Linked DNA regions of Homo sapiens: region 2 is linked to region 1. Evidence: promoter capture Hi-C in 16 types of primary human blood cells and fetal thymus (Javierre and others, 2016). All regions are on one chromosome and are shown on one strand. The core of a region is centred on a gene start or on the middle of the fragment in contact, and the rest is flanking DNA. Distances in the headings are between cores, read along the strand shown. Region 1 holds the start of SPAG9 (sperm associated antigen 9). Region 2 overlaps TOB1 (transducer of ERBB2, 1).

Region 1 (6,758 bases), core at 2,587-5,086:
GATTAGCATCTGAAACCGGTCCAAATCTATCTAAAATTAGCCCTTCTTTAGGTTGTTTTTAAAGAATCCCTAAAACAGCAGACTAGCTCCACACTAGAAATTCAAATAAAAGCAAAGGAAAAAGTCAGAAGGTATTCAAAATATGTCCTATCAATATAAAGATTAAATTTTTGATGCCTTGCTGAGAATTCCTGCAAGCAAGAGATCATAGCACCTCACACATTCCTAAAACATTCTATCTACATACCCACCTAAGTTTCCACAGAGGTGCTCAGAATTTACTTTACTCTCTCTGGTGATGGATAATTTCCATGCTTTCAAATCACTTTTGCTGTAAATACCCTGAGGCACTTACTTTGGTATAAAAGACTCTTGGTCTCCGCATTAAAGACACAAACAGGCCGGCACGGTGGCTCATGCCTGTAATCCCAGCACTTTGGGAGGCTGAGGCGGGCAGATCACGAGGTCAGGAGATTGAGACTATCCTGGCTAAAATGGTGAAACCCCGTCTCTACCAAAAATACAAAAAAATTAGCCAGGCGTGGTGGCACGTGCTTGTAATCCCAGCTACTCAAGAGGCTGAGGCAGAATCGCTTGAACCCGGGAGGCGGAGGCTGCAGTGAGTCAAGATTGTGCCACTGCACTCCAGCCTGGGTGACAGAGCAAGACTCCGTCTCAAAAAAAAAAAAAAAAAAAAAAAAGGCGCAAACAAAGCACTCACAGAAAACTAAACACAGAATTCACTCTACATATTGGCCAAAGGGAGACAATTTCTGGATACTGAGCAACACACAATTTATGATCTTATGTGAAAACTGATGGCCGGGTGTGGTGGCTCACATCTGTAATCCCAGTACTTTGGGAGGCTGAGGCGAGTGGATTGCCTGAGCTCAGGAGTTCAAGACCAGCCTGGGCAACAAGGTGAAACCCCGTCTCTACTAAAATACAAAATATATATACATATTAGCTGGGCGGGGTGGCACGTGCCTATAGTCCCAGCTACTCGGGCGGCTGAGGCAGAAGAATTGCTTGAACCCGGGAGGCAGTGAGCCGAGATCGTGCCACTGCACTCCAGCCTGGCGACAGAGAGAGACTCTGTCTCAAAAAAAAAAAAAAAGAGAAAAGAAAACTGATAACAAGGTGTGTTTATGTTTGTGGCCTGGGAGTGGGCTCATTTAGCATTTCATAAATGTTCTCTGTTCTCAGGTCATGACCCTTTGCCCAATGGTTTCACTATGGAGAATTTACAGATGTAACTGAAAAAATATAAACTACAAATAAATTCATTGGATAACCTATTTTTTTTAGAGTCATTTACTCAAGAAATTAATAGGGAACCCAGAGTCTAGCAGTCGGGCAATTTTGTTTTCTGATTCTGCAACCTGTGGCAGATGGTTTTCTTGGCACGTGTGACCCTGGCATTTTGCCCATATTTACACGGACTGACAGGAGTTTAAGGCTGGAGGGAGCATTTATTTTACGTGAGGTAAAAGGTCATGTCAGGCTTGCTTGTCACCTGTGTGTACATGTGGTTAATTCCCAGTCACTTCCATGTATATCCACACACTGGCAAGGGGCTATATGAGCATGAAGCAGCAAGTAGCACTTGACCTCTGTTCTATAAAGAGTGCTAACAAACAAGCGGAAATTGTGATCCTATCATTATTTGGTTTTTCATCCCTTCCTTCCCTATATGAAAGGAAAAGCTCTTGAAATAGTCCATTCTGGCGGGGTGCGGTGGCTCATGCCTGTAATCCCAGCACTGGGATGGTCAGCCCGAGGCCAAAGTGGGCAGATCACTTGAGGCCAGGAGTTCAAGACCATCCTAGGCACCATGGAGAAATCCTGTCTCTACAAAAAACAAAAATGAGCGGGGAGTGTTGTCCTAGCTCCTTAGGAAGCTGAGGCACAAGAATCGCTTGAACCCGGCAGGCAGAGGTTGCAGTGAGCCAAGATCACTCCACTGCACTTCACCCTGGGCGACAGAGTGAGACTACGTCTCAAAAAAAAAAAAAAAAAAAGGCAATTTTGTTTGGCAAATTCAATAGCATTCCTTTGAGAAAATTGGATCCCACAATCAGAACTAAAAATCATCACTACAGTCAAGCTTTTAAAAAAGGAAAAAGAACTATTTAACCAGATGCAAAGGTATACGTGACAAAATAAAACAAAAATTTAATGGTGTTACTATTCAGTGTCAGGAAATGAGCTACAAACCTCACATCCTAAAAACTCTTCAAGTCTTTTTGAAAAATACTATGTCATTCCTTCAATAATTAGTTATTTCGCCTCCTTTGATCACCATGTATTTAAGCAGGTGTGCTAGGTGCTTGAGAAACAAAAATAGGACACATCACCTGCCTTTGATAAGGTCCACAGAAATAACGCCAACGCAGGCTGAAAGCTAAACTCCTTGTCAGTCTCAAGAAGCCAAGGACCTATCACTTGCACCCTAGAACTCCAAAAGGTTCACAGAGTCGAGGTGAGGGCGCCCAGGTCACTGCTCGGGTGCTAGAGTTAACAGGTGGCCAAATGCACGTATAAACAGCAGTCTAAGAAGGAAACTCAGACGGAAAAAGTGTTGCCAACTGTCACCTACATCTTCCCAACCCCGCCCCCCAATCCTTTTTATAAATAAACGGAGGGTTTTTGAAGGGAACTGTCCAAGGTTACAACCTGATACGGAGGAATGCTTTGGTTTGGGATACCAACGAAATTGTTTATATATTTATTGAGTACTGCCACACAACATCTAAAAGTTGACAAAGTGTCAACCAAGGCACATAGAACATAAAATAAGACGTCTTTCTCAACAAGATTAAAACGTCAAGAAGAAACTGACCGAAAGAGGGAGATCTCTAACTTCCCAAAGCAAGGCAACCCCCTGGAAAGGTACTGGAACTAGCGGAAGTTACATATCCAGGGCAGAAGTGTCCCCCTCCCCAAGGGTAAAACTTTGAACCGCCATCTGACTATCCCACGGTGGTCGGAAACTTCCCTCAACAAGAAGCAACCAGACACCCAACAATCTCCGCCCTTGGCCAACCCCAGGTGTCCTCAGGCCAGGCTGCCGCTTCCTCCCCGGGCCCTGCCTCCTCCATCTCGCTCCCTTCCCAGGACACTCAGTAGCCGGCCTCGGCTTCCAACGCCGGCCTGGCTCCCGGGGTACCTGGAGGCCGCCGGGATCGGTCCCAGGGGGCATCGGCCTCAGGCCCGCCCTCCAGGAGGCCCGTCGCGCCTCTAGTCCCCGACCGGGCCGCGACCCCGCCCCGGCCGCCCCCGGAGACGGATCCCGCGGCCCCCGCCCTGCCGCCGGCCTCACCTCCTCAGCGTGCTTGCGCAGCGCCTTCTCCCGCTCGTACTGGGTGATGAGCTGCTCGTTGTCGTCCCGCAGCAGCTCCAGCTCCACCTGGTGCTCCTGGTCCTGCGCGAACACCGAGTCCAGGTTCTCCAGCACAGCCACCACCAGCGGCATCAGCTCTTTGACCACCTCCTCGTCATAGCGCCCGATAAGCCGCTCGAACTCGCGGTAGATGGAGCCGGCCAGGCCGGACACCCGCTCCGACATCACGGCCCCGGAGCCGCCGGGCTCCTCCTGATACACCACACCGTCCTCCAGCTCCATGGTGGCAAGCGGACGGGCGGGCGGCCCGGGGCGTCGCCGGCAGAGGGGCGGCACCTGCCCGCACGGGACGGACCCGACTCGGGCTGGGACGGGTACTAGGGCTGGAGCCCGGGCCGGGGCTGGGGCTGGGCCCGGCGGGGTGGGGGCCGGGGCCGGAGGAGGGGAGGGGTGGCGTAGGCGCTCTCACCCCAACCGCCGCTGCACCAACTGCCGGGGCGGCCCGGCCGCGCGCGCCACACGTCATCCGCGGGGCGGGGCCGGCGCCGCGTCGGCCCGATGGGCGGGGCGCCGCGGGAGGCCAGGCGCGGCCGGGGGCGGGGCCAAGCGTCTTCGGGCGCTGGCGGAGGAAGCCATGGCGTCAACACCCGGCGCCGCGAAGACGGTGCGGGCGCCAATGGGAAAGACTGCGGTCGGCGGGTGGGGAGAAGTATCCATCCACAGCGGGATTCGCGGGGCGGGTCCCAGGGGAAAGGGAGGGGTTCGGGAAGAGTGACGAGTTAACTTAGCTGGCATTTCTATGGCTTTTTAAAGCTCACAAAGCACCTACTCACTTCATCCCCACAACAGGCGTAAAGAGGTAGATATTTGGACCTCGTTTCACAGACAAAGAAACTAGGCCCAGGAAAGTGGCGTTGCTCTCAAGGTCACGCAGCTACAACGGGAAACGGGCTGAGCCGGGACTCAAACCAATTACCCAGATTGAGAATTCCGGGCTCCGAAAAAAACTGGAAACAGAAAGGGAGGGAAAAAAAACCATAACCAGGGTCTGCCCAAGTGGAAAGGTGGTCTCGAATAGAATAGAACTGTTTTGTGCTATGGAAGAGCAAGGGTGAGATGAGGGGAAATGGGAGTGACTGCTAATAGGTATGGGATTTCGTTTTGGGATAATAAAAATGTTCTAAAAAATGTATTATAGTGATGAATACACAACTCTAAATATGCTAAAAGACATTCAACTTTACACGTTAAGTGAGTGAATCATATGGCGTGTGAATTATATCTCAAGTTATTAAAAAATAAACAGGAAGGGTGATAGCATTCTGGAGAAGGGTGAAACTGGAACGTTACATGTGGCACTTTCCCACATAGTGTGTCTGCTACTTCTGGCCAACTTGGGACGGGGACATTTCCAGGCTCCAGCCACCCTCCTCTCCTCAAGTCTTGAAGTGGGGCGGAAAGGGTAAGTGGGAGGTTGGGGAACAGAGGAGGTAAGGGGTGGAGTCACTGGAGTGAATAAGTCCCATGACAAGTGAGGTTTCTGCCGCCTGGGAGAGTGTCACGTGTGGGGAATGACACAACGCCCACGCCTAGAGCGGGCTGAGTCAAGGATCCCGGTGTGCTCATCTAACGTCCGCAAATGGGACGGAAGACACTCTCAAAAGTCCCTTCTCTGTGTCTCAGGTGACTCAGCTCTCCGTCCCGACTCGTTTAAGAAAAGGGGGAGGAAAGGCAGGATAAACATAGGTTTAAGGGGAGAATTGGCCACCCACCGGGATCATAACTACCCTTAGCTTGGGGTTTACAAGTTTAAGTACTTCCCACCAAGTATGAAGTAGTCCCCTAAAGTTTCCTACGCATGACCCACCTGGAGACCCATAAAAACAATATGAAGGTTGGGCAAGAGTAAACCTATAAATTTGGAAGGACAAAGATGAAAATACTAAGTCTTATGAAGTGCCAGATGGGACTGAATTTGCGGCCTGTGTTTTTTCCCGTTCTCACCCTCACCCCACATTCACCCTTATGTCATTTAGATATTTGGGTAGTAGGAATGCCGACCAGCTGGTTGGCTGTGAGCCGCAAATGCCCTTTCTCTTCTTAACCTTTCATATTTGAAAACTAGAAAAAGTCTTGATCTGAATCTCTCCTCTTTTATTTTCTCTTCCTGAGGGCTGTCACTCACCTGGTCTACCTATATGCATGCCTCTCTTTTCCTGGGGGATCAGAAGAGCCAAAAAACATAGGGCAAGGCTTTACTTTTTCTTTCCACAATATTATCATACACATCAAAAAATTTAAAGAAAAAAGTATCAGCCGGGCGTGGTGACTCATGCCTGTAACCCAGCACTTTGGGAGGCCGAGGCGGGTGGATCACAAGGTCAGGAGTTCAAGACCAGCCTGAACAATATGGTGAAACCCCATTTCTACTAAAAAGTACAAAAATTAGTCGGGCATGGTGGTGCACACCTATAATCCCAGCTACTCAAGAGGCTGAGGCAGGAGAATAGCTTGAACCTGGGAGGCGGAGGTTGCAGTGAGCAGAGATCACACCATTGCACTCCAGCCTGGGCGACAGAGTGAGACTCCATCTCAAAAAAAAAAAGAAAAAAGAAAAAAGTATCGATTTTTCAAGTACGAGATTTTAATTGTCATTCCTAATAAGTATACTTCTTTAGGTATACGTTCAACATAGAAAGATACACACTTATGTCTTGATTTTAAGCTTCTGCCAGTTATCAGAGATAACATTTAGTTAAAATAAAATTCAGCTAAATAACCATCAGCTGATGAATGGATAAAATGTGACATAGGTATACAATGGACTATTATTTGGCAATAAAAAGAAAGTCGTTGGAGGGGAGGGGAGTAGGCGTGGTGGCTCGCGCCTGTAATCTCAGCACTTGCAAGAGGATGGCTTGTGCCATGAGTTGGAGACCAGCCTGGGCAACATAGTGAGACCTTCATCCCTGACAAAAAAAAAAAAAAAAATTTTTTTTGGCCAGGCACGGTGGCTTACACCTGTACTCCCAGCACTTTGGGAGGTCGAGGCGGGCGGATCACCTGAGGTCAGAGGTCAGATGTTCAAGATCAGCCTGACCAATATGGAGAAACCCTGTATCTACTAAAAATACAAAATTAGCCGGGCGTGGTGGCCCGCACCTGTATTCTTAGCTACTCAGGAGGCTGAGGCAGGAGAATCGCTTGAACCTGGGAGGCGGAGGTTGTGGTGAGCCAAGATCGAGCCATTGCACTCCAGCCTGGGCAACAAGAGCAAAACTCCGTCTCCAAAAAAAAAAAAAAAGAATAGAAAAGAAAACAAAAATTTTAAGTACATGCCATGACATAGCTGAATCTTTTTTTTTTTTTTGAGATGGAATTTCGCTCTTGTTGCCTAAGCTGGAGTGCAATGGTG
Region 2 (6,758 bases), core at 3,092-5,591, 260 kb before region 1:
ATGGCTGCTCCCAAAAGGAAATGTCAACTAGTATACTGAGTTTTAATCAACTTGCCAACTGTATGAAAAAGAATGCACTAGTTGCCTTCAGTGCTTCAAAACTAGAAATACAAACTCCGTGATACTTATTCTTATGAAAATAATTATACTTATTTTATGAAACATGAGCTTTTAGAATATTACTGTAGAATTTCAATTTTCTGTTGACGCAAATAACTGACAGCAACATGTTCACATAAGGCAGTTATAATCTTCATTTACTTTCCTCATTTTAAAGGGCAGCGAACATGGCTAGAATTCTGGACTTTATGGCTTCTAAATACTGTGAGCCCCTATGGACACATGTTCTATTAGTTGACTGACAACTCTTAATAGCAAATGATTAGTTCTCATAGCTCCTCAGGGAAGCATATTGGTATCACTGTACTCATTTTGCAGATGAATAAACTGAGCCATCTGAATCAAATGACTTCATACAATTCAGCAAGGAATTTAGACCTGTAGTTTCAGTTAGCCACTAGACAACTAGACAGGGACTGCCTGTTGATTAAATGTTTTCGTCTAAGGTTTGCCTAATTGTGAGATGATCTCAAAGTTCTCACTAACAGACTATATATACAAACCAAGTCCTCTAAGACATAAAATCTTAAAACTTCAAATACTGAGAAATGGTTAATGTAGGTTTTACTATTAATACTTACGAGTCAAATTCCATTAATAAGACTTTCAGCCCAATCTAAACCACCTAAAGCTCAACTAAGGGGTCAGCAATATTTGCTTCAATCAAATGCCAACTAACCCAACAATGTAAACAGTATTTAGTATAACAGGATTTAATCCACATAGAAACTACAGAAATTCTCCTGAGCCTTTTTTTTTTTTTTTTTTGAGATGGAGTCTTGCTCTGTCGCCCAGGCTAGAGTGCAGTGCCTGGTTCACACCATTCTCCTGCCTCAGCCTCCCGAGTAGCTGGGACTACAGGCGCCCGCCACCACACCCGGCTAATTTTTTGTATTTTTAGTAGAGACGGGGTTTCACTGTATTAGCCAGGATGGTCTCGATCTCCTGACCTCGTGATCCGCCCACCTCGGCCTCCCAAAGTGCTGGGATTACAGGCGTGAGCCACCGCGCCCGGCCTTGGCCTTTCTTTAGAGTGTTTATCAATAAGCACAGACAAGGAATGGTTGTGAAAATAGCAACAGGAGGTTAACGGTTACAACTTTACTTGTAACCGACCACTAAATGTAGTCAGGGAATCATCCAGTAGTTCTGAAAAGAGATGTAATTTATATGACTGAATTATGAAAACCAAAAAAACTAGAGCATTGCTAGGTGTGGTGGCTCACGCCTGTAATCCCAGTACTTTGGGAGGCCGAGGTGGGCAGATGACCTGAGGTCAGGAGTTCGAGACCAGCCTGGCCAATATAGTGAAACCCTGTCTCTACTAAAAATACAAAAATTAGCTGGGTGTGGTGGTGTGCACCTGTAATCCCAGCTACTCAGGAGGCTGAGACAGGAGAATCGCTTGAACCTGGGAGATGGAGGTTGCATGGGAGGTAGAGGTTGCAGTAAGCCAAGATTGTGCAACTGCACTCCAGCCTGGGCAACAGAGCAAGACTCCATCTCAAAAAAAAAAAAAAAAAAAAAAAAAAAAAAAAAACAAAAAACTAGAGCAATGATATAACAATGATTTCTAAAAACATTTCCTTATTGCCTATGAGTTCAGTTTATGACCAATAGAAATATAAAGTCTCACTCAAAATATCATCATGGCATATTCTGAGCATGGTTAATAGCCTTCCACTAGACCCCTCTCATTAACACTTTTGTAAAGATTCTGCAAATTACGTAGCTAATACATCGAAAATGGTGTTATTACCCTGACTTCAAATCAGAATAGCAACTAATCTGAGGGAGCAAAGCATAGTGCTTAAGAGCGTGAACTCTGGAACCACTACCTGCATTTGAATCGCTAGTCTGCCATGTATTGGCCATGCAATCTTGGGTCAGTGAAGCTTTCTGTGCCTCAGTCCCATCCCCCTCCCCCTGACCCAGTCTATAAACTGGGTTAGAACTACACTTGACACATAGTAAGTGCTATATGTTTATTTCCTGATTTAAAAGATTTTTAAAAATGGCTCCAACTACATGTTTACATAAGCCACTCAAAAATGGTTTCAAACTGGGCATGCAATTGGAAAATGTGCTAATTTTCCAATTGTATGCCCACAGATAATTGATCCTAAATCATTTAAACTACAAGATATAATCTTCCTAATATACCACAAAAACTAAAGCACTCTGATCTCAAATGACCTCCTGGGCCAAACTGATTAAGCGTCAATTGATTGGTATACTAAACAATGCAATGGGTTTTATTCAGCAGTGACCATTTTACATACTTGTCTTCTGTTTTTCTTGTATCTGTTTTTGCACTAGAGTTGTCACCCAGCATCTGACAAAAGCATGCATTTCCAGTCAAGCAAGGGTACGTATCTGATGTAGCATGCCTATGCCATTTTCTGTTTGTGTACCGAAAGGATATAAAGGAAGGTCTACCAACCGGCATTTTACTTCATTAGCTTAAGTATGTCCAATGAGACATACTTTGTTTCTTTCTGTGTCACAGTGACTTATTTTAAAATAATCGAAGTCCTGAAGATTTATTAAGTCTCTCAATTAAAATGCCAGACATGTATATGGGAACGAAATTTACACCCGATTGGAAAAACATTATTTTATTTTATTTTTTTGAGACTGAGTTTCGCTCTTCTCACCCAGGTTGGAAGGCAGTGGCACAATCTTGGCTCACTGCAACCTCCGCCTCCGGGTTCATGTGATTCTCCTGCCTCACCCTCCCAGCCTGTAGCTGGGACTACAGGTGCATGCCATCACACCTGGCTAATTTTGTGTTTTTAGTAGAGATGGGTTTCGCCATGTTGGCCAGGCTGGTCTCAAACTCCTGACCTCAAGTGATCCACCTGTCTCGGCCTCCCAAAGTGCTGGGATTACAGGTATGAGCCACAGCACCTGCCCTGGAAAAATATTTTAAACTCAGAGTACCTTTAGTTTCACCTTCAAAAGCTAAGTTAACTAATCACAGCATATATTGTTATCTTTAAGGAGGCATTTTGAAGAAGGCCTATATTTACATTTGCCATCTATTATAGGCGAAAAGGACATTTCACAATGTACCTGATTTCAGAAACGACAAGGCAGGGCAGAAAACGAATATACTAAACTTAGAAAGCCATTTTTTGGTATAATATTCCTTACTCATCCATGAGCTATGAAATCTGTAAGGCAACATTTTGGACACTCAGGGTATTCAGAGGCTGCTACAGTATCTGTAGTTATAGGAGTCAAAAAGATGGGAAAGGCCTGTGAAAATAACGAATTCATCAAATTGTCAACCGAAATGGTCTCCCCACAGAGAGTCAAAAGTGTGATGGCACCTTGGGGAGAAAATGACTTGGAACTAAGATGTAACCTTTTCTCAGATGTGCTAGGCAAAAGCACCTTTTAAAAAATTCCCATTCCTAATGAACAAAAAGGGCATGTAAACAGGGCCTTTGTTCATTTTTTAAAAAATTATGAAGTCCTCGCTGGATGCGTTGGCTCGCACCTGTAATCCCAGCATTTTGGGAGGCCAAAGCGGGAGGATCATGAGATCAGGCGATCGAGACCATTCTGGCCAACCCCGTCTCGTCTCTACTAAAACTATAAAAATTAGCTGGGCGTGGTGGCGCGCGTCTGTAGTCCCAGCTACTTGGGAGGTTGAGGCAGGAGAATCACTTGAACCCGACAGGCGGAGGTTGCAGGGAGCCAAGATTTCACCACTGCACTCCAGCCTGGCAACAGAGCGAGACTCTGTCTAAAAAAAAAAAAAGATGAAGTTCTCAAGGACACCAAGCTCAAGTTTTAATAAAACCAATCAAGATCACATTTTGAGTTAGTCATTCTCCGATGTCAAACATATGTACCAAGATGAAATTTCCCTAAGATTTTTGTCGATACATATATCCTTAAGATCTGAAACAGATATTCAGGCTTATGTTAACCTCAGTATTTAAAATCTGAATATATTAGTGCTTGGCTGGGTGTGGTGGCTCACGCCTGTAATCTCAGCATTTTGGGAGGCCAATGCGGGCGGATCACCTTAGTTCAGGAGTTTGAGACCAGCCCAGGCAACGTGGCGAAACCCTGCCTCTACAAAAAATACAAAAATTAGCAGGGAACGGTGGCACGCAGCTATAATCCCAGCTATTCAGGAGAGTGAGACAGGAGAATCGCTTTAGTGGAGGTTGCAGTAAGCCAAGATGGCCCCTTTGCACTCCAGCCTGGGTGACAGAGTGAGACCTTGTCTCAAAATAAAATGAATATATTAGTGCTCCAGACAGTTTCAAATTCTATTGTTGACCAGGCGCAATGGCTCATGCCTGTAATCAGAGCACTTTGGGAAGCCAAGGCAGGCAGCTCATTTGAGGCCAGGAGTTCGAGACCAGCCTGGTCAACATGGTGAAACCCCGTCTCTACTAAAAATACAAAAATTAGCCAACATGGTGGCGGGCGCCTGTAGTCTCAGCTACTCGGGAAGTTGAGGCAGGAGAATCACTTGAACCTGGGAGGTGGAAGGTTGCAGTGAGCCGAGATGGTGCCACTGCACTCCAGCCTGGGTGACAGAGCAAGAGACTCCGTCTCAAAAAAAAAAAAAATTCTATTATGTTCCGTCCAGCTGCCTTATGATTTTCAGAAAAAGCACATTACACTTGAGCCTTCATTTATAAGTAGAGTTTTCTCCCAAATGTAACTTTATCAGTCTGTAGCAGAAACTAGTGCTTAAAGCCATTATCCTGATGGTTCTTACAGCTATTCAAACTTCGTGATCACAAAAGCATGTAAGTGGTAAGTGTTGGCAGACCAGATCTCTGCTGCTTGCACCCATTATTCCAATACTTCTTCATAGCCTCGTTCTGTTCCCTAAAGAACAAAAGCCTCACCATGGAGCTGACAAACAGCTTAGCTCTGTTATTTCCAGTGCTTGTTTCCTTAAAACTTTGTATTGCTCTACACTGCATGGGTAAATGACAAAAGGCTTTTGTAGACTGGTGTCCAAAAAGCTCATGAGACCAAATTTATTTCACTGGTAACCCAGGCAGTGCTGGTTTCTTACTATAAAAGTACATATAAAGTTTTTTAAGACAGCTTTCTCACCAATACTATGTCAACACTGTATCAAATGGACGTTAACTTTCTCACCAATACTATGTCAATACTGTATCAATTGACATTTAGTGAAATGACTCATTTAGTGTTCTTCTCCCCAACTCTTCAGTTTTAAAAAACTCCATCCTCACCAAGCCACTCCAATTTGATACATTGTCAATATCTCTAAATCCTTCAAACCAGCAGGTTGGGTACCCACTTGCAAAAAATTAAATACATAAGCGTTTTTGCTGGGAAAATGAAAATGCTAACATCTAACCATCTGTCCAGCCGTGAATAGATTTTGACCATAAGTTCTCTAGCTATATGCAATAGCTAAACTTTAAAGATTAGTAAAGTGATGTAAATTTTTCTAAGTTCAGTCAGCCGTTTTGTCCAAGCAAGTTTCCTCAGCAAAAACAGAAAACTGATCCAATGCTCTCTCCATATAAATTTCAAATAAATCATCTCAGATTACACGAAGGAATTTCATCTTATCACCTGACTCCTCCATGTCAGCATGACATTTTGAAACTTGCTGTATAGCTAACCTTACCATACCATCTCTATAATGGGGTAGACAAATGTGGACTGAAGAGGGCTGTTAAAAAATAAAGTTGTACCAAGCACTGGTCAGGCTATAGTTTTGATAGCATTTTTTATGTGGCAAACCACGATCTGGTACATCAGTAGAGCAACTGCTTTCCATTATTCCTTCGTGACTCAATGAGTCAGGCCTTTTTCCATCATTAGCATTTACAACATAATAACTCCAGAGGTCGATCTTCAGAAAACACTTAAAAACAAAGACAATAGGCATTTTTAATTTTAAAGAATTTTAATACAAACTTAATATAAACTATTTCAGTCCCTCTTAACATGTAAGACACTGACTCAAAATACTTTTATACCGTTTTTTTCAAGTATTGCACAATATAGGTACAAAATTAATATTTACGATTACATTTTTCTTCCATAATATATAGCAAAAATCTTTAAACTTTTAACAGAAAATACATTTTTTTGAAAAAGCAAGTATTCGTACATTTTAATTCCACCACTAAAGGAATATCCTGTACACAATTTTTAGAATAGTTGATGTCTTTAAGATGGATATTTTACAATTTCAGTAAAAAAAATACAACATGAAGCTGCTGCTGTCACAGATCACTGTAGTAAAAAGATATAAATGCAATACCATGTCGTAGAAACAATATATATATATCCTCTGATATTTTACAAACTTTGTACTAAATTAAATTATACAATTAGAAAAGACCAATAAACCCACTTATTAGTGCCAATTTTTATAAAAAAAAATCAGCCATGTCCTTGCTATATCTTAAATACTGTAAGAGGCCATATCTGAGAGTATACTTTAAAATATACAGTCAGTATAAAATAACTTTGTGCTTGGTTGGCAAATGAAAAATGATGCATGTTTTATTATTATTTTTTTAACCAAGCTTGAATGTATCCTTACTATAAGCTTAAAAAAAAAAATTCTCAAGGAGGTGAAAAAAAAAATCCCCCTTGGGCCCGTGCATTTTAAC

The links. Contacts are between HindIII fragments. The CHiCAGO score rates a contact against its expected background, and 5 or more counts as called.
Region 2: a contact is called between a fragment that was not itself captured here and the fragment with the promoter of SPAG9 in region 1, in 14 of 17 cell types (neutrophils, fetal thymus, naive B cells and 11 more). The highest score is 15.3, in neutrophils.

Annotation. Positions count from the first base shown.
Region 1 is chr17:51,117,032-51,123,789 of GRCh38, forward strand. SPAG9 (sperm associated antigen 9) reads right to left here and starts at 3,837. Exons shown (of 30, transcript NM_001130528.3): 1 at 3,323-3,837. The coding sequence starts at 3,625. RefSeq lists silencers at 3,090-3,219, 3,240-3,319, 3,570-3,949 and enhancers at 3,350-3,469, 3,759-4,573, 4,090-4,319, 4,929-5,188. The HindIII fragment of the contact is 3,961 bases long and covers 2,106-6,066 here.
Region 2 is chr17:50,856,199-50,862,956 of GRCh38, forward strand. TOB1 (transducer of ERBB2, 1) reads right to left here. Exons shown (of 2, transcript NM_005749.4): 2 at 6,025-6,758. Among named protein-coding and RNA genes, the nearest start is that of TOB1, 6.8 kb to the right of the region's middle. The HindIII fragment of the contact is 4,656 bases long and covers 2,014-6,669 here.